Regions from separate parts of the Homo sapiens genome. Here region 1 is linked to region 2. The links are contacts of gene promoters, found by promoter capture Hi-C in human tissues and cell types (Jung and others, 2019). All regions are on one chromosome and are shown on one strand. Each heading gives the region's core, a stretch centred on a gene start or on the middle of the fragment in contact. The rest is flanking DNA. Distances are from core to core; before and after follow the strand shown.

Region 1 (2,700 bases), core at 197-2,696, 860 kb after region 2:
AAAAGTTGCTAATTTCATTCTCTTTTCTTTGGCTTGTTTAATTTTCTATCTGAGGACCAGACCCAACAGGTGAGGTTTTCCTGAGGGATGTTTTGGCAACTTTTTATTGTGTTTTGCCTTCTGAACTAAGGGCTTATTTTTTAAATTGTAAACGGAGTAAGCTTTAAAATCTGTAAGTTAAATAAACAAAAAATATATCCAGAAGAGTGTTAGCAAATGATTTCTTTAAATGTCTCTTCTCTTTTCCTCCCACTCCTACTAGAAGGAGTAGAGCTAAATAATGCATAATTCGTGACTGTGCCAGAAGCCATAAAGGAGAATGAGAATTGGAGTGCAGTGACCCTTGACCATTAGGTTATTAGCAGATTTTGTTTCCAGAGGGTGAAAGGGCCTTGGTGGAACCTTGCTCATGGGCCCAGAACCCAAACCGCTAGAAGAGAAGCAACTAAATGTGACCAAATACACTATGAAGTATGGGTTATCTGAAATTGGATAGCTGTGCCCTGTGCCCCCATTTGACAGGAAGCAAAGTATCACTGGAGAAGACTAAGCTGATAGCTGCAACCTGGTCCTTGCTCAGAATCACATGCTCACTCTATAGCCTCAGTTAAGCTGAGGCATGAGTCATACCCAGAATCAAAGACAAGAATCTTTCTAGAGCAAAAGCCTTGAAACCCATCATCCCCAGGAAATAGGGGACCTCTCCTTAGCCACAGTCTACAAGGCACAGGCTGCAAAAATATATGGATTTTTTTCTATACATTTCTTCACAATTTCTTCTGGTTTTCTACATAAGTCTACATATTTCTTCATAACACTTGGTATCTTTGGCCTAACCAACCTCTATATGAGCAGAGATAATAAATCCAATACAAAATCAAACTTGTGCAATTGTGCAATTAAGTAAAAAAACAAAAACAAAAACAAAACTAGTTTCTGGTAATACGGGGATACACCATCCTCAAGAAAAAGTTGAGCATCTCAACAAGTTACTTAATAACTACTATAATGCCTATGTAGCAGCACTGGTTTTCACATGTTTTAAATTAATACATATCCGAATCTCAACTTCCAAGCGTATGAAATAAAACCTAAACAGTGAATTGATACAAAATATGGCAAGTGTGTTCAATCCCTAAATCCAGAGCCAATTAAGTATATAAGATCTTAAAGAAGACTATTAACCCAATCCTGTCTGCAAACTGGGGGATGAGTGCAGCTAAGGACAGAGTCAAAAGGAGGTATTTCACCCAGCAGCAAGGTGGGTGGGCATTGTCTCCAGCACCATAACCAGAGGCTGGTCACTGTGCTTTTATCTCTGGCCCTAGATACAGAAGACACAGAAGGAGAGCTGTAGTTTTCTTATCTATTTTCCAGCCTCTGGGCTATCTTTGCTTCTAGTAGCCTTTCATGGGCAGAGTCCTACACATCAACGATATGAAGCCAAAGCTTAGTGCTGGGAGGAGGAGGTGTTAAGCCATGAAGCATCAAGATGGAAAACCTGCTTTGGAATATTATTGAAATCCTAGTCCGTGTCACACCCAACCTCCTTGTGCTGGTGGGAATTTTTGTTTGTTTGTTTGTTTGTTTGAGACAGAGTCTTGCTCTAGGCTGGAGTGCAGTGCAGTGGCATGATCTGAGCTCATTGCAGCCTCTGCCTCCCGGGTTCAAGCAATTCTCATGTCTCAGCCTCTGGAGTAGCTGAGATTACAGGCATGTGCCACCATGCCCAGCTAATTTTTTTATTTTTAGTAGAGACAGGGTTTTCACCATGTTGGACAGGCTGGCCTTGAACTCCTGACCTCAGGTGATCCACCCACCTCAGCCTCCCAAAGTACTGGGATTGCAGGCGTGAGCCACTGCACCCAGCCCTTGCTGGTGGGAATTTCAACACAATTGGCAGAAAGCAGAGAGGGGAGAGATAAACATTCCACCAGGTGAAGGCTTTCTGGAATAGCCTGCCCACACACAGCGCAAGATGTCCCAGATAAAATCTGAGCGCCCAGCCCAGTTTCAAAACTTCAGCCACAGGAGTACCATGAACAGGCGTGGATCTACTGCTCAAAGAAATAGCCTCCTCACTCACACCAGTCTTTAAAATGACTATTAAATAAATCATTTTGAATCTATTTGTCAAACTGCGGCTTCCCTAAACCCTAAGCAGTGAAACTCAAGATTTGCTTGTAGAAATTGAGGCTAACACGTGGTCTTCTTCTGGTCCCCAAATGAGACTGAAACACTTAAAGACTTACAATCAGTCATAAAAAGAGATATATTATCATCTCACCTAGAAAAGGATCATCTAAAAGGAGGTGAAGAAAAACTATGGGTGCATGGGTGAGGGTTTTAATTAAAATACTCAAGCTTTCATTAATGGCCAAGGGATAAAACCTAAAGTTGATTAGACACCTGCATGTATCAGCACAGCACTAGGAGCTTTACAGAGCTCATTTTATTTAAGTCCTATTTTAGAACAAAGGAAACAGTCTTAGGCAAGGCAAACTCACAGTTGGCTACTCAATGTCTTTTATTTCTGCCTGTTTTTTGGCCCCAGAAAATGCAATATTTTGACACAGAAAAAAACATTAGGATGAGTGTGAAATCAAATACGATTCTGGTTTTTGAGCTGACATTTAGTCATTTGGAGCCACATGGCTGTCCCAGGGCCTGGTCCCCAGGTCATGTGCTTAAAGCTTCCAG
Region 2 (2,700 bases), core at 43-2,542:
GTTTCAAAAAACTGCAATTTTCAGGGGTAAGAAAGCGAAGAGGAGAGGAAGGAAGGAGGGTGAAAGGGAAATATGAGGAGAAAATGAAGGCAAAGTTGGTCACAATGGGGAATGTAAAATGGTCCCCTGTACCTGTTTACGGCCCGTGAAGCACAGGCACATAAATGTACAGACAGTTGCTTAATCTCATGTTTGCATGAGGGAATTTGCTGAGGAGGAGGTGAGGCTCTCGTGAAACAAGATCCATGTGAAAATCACAAGCATATAGGATATTACTCATAAAGCCACCAATGTCTGGTTACCCCACATCTCCTCATATTTTCTGTTCTTGCTGCAGAGAGGAGAGTCTGAGTAGATGGGGAGGGCCTGGGGTCAAGCCCTGGCTTGGATGACTCTGGGTGAATCACAGCACTTGTTGGCAATTGAGAGCGTGGTCTCACTTCCTAGAGGCATGATGAAAATTCATGCAGATGCTTTACATCTTTTAAAATAGTCATCCTAGCCTGGTGCAATGGCTTAGGCCTGCAATCCGAGCACTTTGAAAGACTGAAGTGAGAGGATTGCTTGAGCCCGGGAGTTCGAGACCAACTTGAGCAACATAGTAAAACCCCATGTCTACAAAAGTTAAAAAAGAAAAATAGCTAGGCATGGTGGCATGTGCCTATAGTTCCAGCTACTCAGGAGGCTGAGGTGGGAGAATTATTTGAGCCTTGGAGGTCAAGGCTGCAGTGAACCATGATCACACCACTGTACTCCAACCTAGGTGACAGAGGGAGACCCTGTCTCAAAAAAGAAAAAATAGAAATCATCCTTGGGCATCTGTAAATTGAAGTCACACTCTATTTTGATTGCTTTCCTTTGGTTTTTAAAAATATTGAAGCTGAGATAGCATGTCATGTTGAAATTGTGTATAGTCGGGTTTCATTATCCACGAATTTCATTTCAAAACAAAAAGGAGCATTACAAAATATTGGCTATGAAAATGGGGCATTGACTCAGGGTGAGAACCTGTGTGTCAAAAACATGCCTCATCTCTAAGACCTCACCCAGGTCTAACATTCCAGAATCCCAGGCAGCAGCCTTCGGAGCTCAAGTCTTACCCTCTCGCTGATCCTCTACTGACCCACGTCCCCCTGGTTTCCACTTACGGCTCAGGAAAGGATGCATCTCAAGGATCCTGGGAGCGGAAGTGACCAGGCACAAGGGTCTCAGCAAATGTCTCCAGATTAGAGTCATTTCTCCCACTCAGAAAGCCAACCCCCATGGAAGCAGATTGGAGGCCGGGCTCTAACTGCTCACTATCCTGCTGGACTTTGAGATTAAGATGGGGAGGAGGCGCTAAAAGGGGAATCCTGGAGTGGTGACTGCCCATGGCTTCAGGCAAGCCCCAGAGCTCTCTATTTCTAGTAACAGTGCCTTCAAGGGGGAGAAAAAGAGAGTGAGGAAAAGAGATAGAATGAAAATAGGAAGGAGAGAGAGAAGAGGAGAGAAAAGAAAGGAAAAGAAGAGAACAGAAGGGAAGAGGAAAGAAAGCAGGCAGATAAAGCAAAGGTCATCTGACAAGTTCTGTTAGTTTAATATTCCATCGGAGTTTCATCCGGGTACACTTTTCTCTGCAGGAGGGTGGTGCTGGGTGTGGGAGAAGGATCAGGACATGGTTGAAGGGGTCGGAGATTGTGAAACGAGGTATGTGACTAAGAGAGGAAAAAGGAAGATATGCATGAAGTGAATGAACAAATAAATTGGTTTTGGGGGTCTTAGAGAAAGAGAGGAGAAAACAATGGGGAAGGAGCCATTCCAAAGAAAAGCTGAGAGTACCAAATAGCTAGGTAAGGTTCTGGACAGCTGTGGATCATCTTATGTGTCTGAGGAAGGCAAAAGGTTGAGAGCTAAGGAGTTAGTGTGCCTTATTTTCATTATTTCTTAAATTCCTATTTATCCCACTCCAGCCTCCCCTTACCTTCAATCCCCATAAGCAAGTATTTAGCATGCTTATATATATCCTTTTGTTGGAACGCATTCTTGTAAAATGTGTATTGTTTAGGGTGAATGCAGTTTTAATTTATGTAAATATGTGTAATATGTCTTTTTTCTTTTCAGTTAGAACCATGTTTTTAAGATCCAACCAGGTTGCGAAGAGTACATCTCTTCTAGGTTTCCCACTGCTTCAGAATGGGGGACCACGTGCTTTACATGGCAGTGCCTAAGGGGGACAGTGACAAAGCTGATTGCAACTAGGGGGTCGAGGGACTGGGGATGGGTAGATATCATTAATCTTGGGTCACCCTGTAAGGGAGACAACTGACTTGGCCACATCCTTCACAAACACCTGCATAACAACCTTTTACTCCAAATGCCCATAGGAGGTGAAGGCACTAGGTAAGCAGAGGGAGTATGTTACATTCAATATAATTGTCCCTTTTTGTGTGGGTTTCCAGCTCCCAGTCAATTCTGCTTTGGGGGCAGTAGGGAGTGATCATATGAGCTGGCTGGTCACGTGCTGCAGGAGTAATCCAAGTCAGTGAGGCCAGTGGACACACAGCATCTCCCTGGGGTGCACAGTCTGTCCTGTGGTTGGACAGAGGGGAGAAAATGTTGAGTTCCTGAATTCTGGTATATGCTCTTCAGCTCTACTGGACTGTGGTCAATGTTGCCTTTGTGAACACCGCAAGTCTTCCTTGACTTGAGATTTTTCTTGGT

Evidence for each region. The method cuts DNA at HindIII sites, captures the fragments that hold promoters and counts their contacts. A contact is called where the count stands out against the background at its distance.
Region 1: a fragment that was not itself captured here is called in contact with the fragment with the promoter of AGXT2 in region 2 in 1 of the 25 tissues and cell types used here (H1 embryonic stem cells).

Annotation. Positions count from the first base shown.
Region 1 is chr5:35,901,858-35,904,557 of GRCh38, forward strand. It overlaps CAPSL (calcyphosine like), which reads right to left. Exons shown (of 5, transcript NM_001042625.2): 5 at 2,431-2,700. The coding sequence ends at 2,688. Among named protein-coding and RNA genes, the nearest start is that of CAPSL, 35 kb to the right of the region's middle. The HindIII fragment of the contact is 3,117 bases long and covers 1-2,700 here.
Region 2 is chr5:35,046,657-35,049,356 of GRCh38, forward strand. It overlaps AGXT2 (alanine--glyoxylate aminotransferase 2), which reads right to left and starts at 1,293. Exons shown (of 14, transcript NM_031900.4): 1 at 1,149-1,293. The coding sequence starts at 1,236. It also overlaps a transcript of PRLR not described here. The HindIII fragment of the contact is 10,637 bases long and covers 1-2,700 here.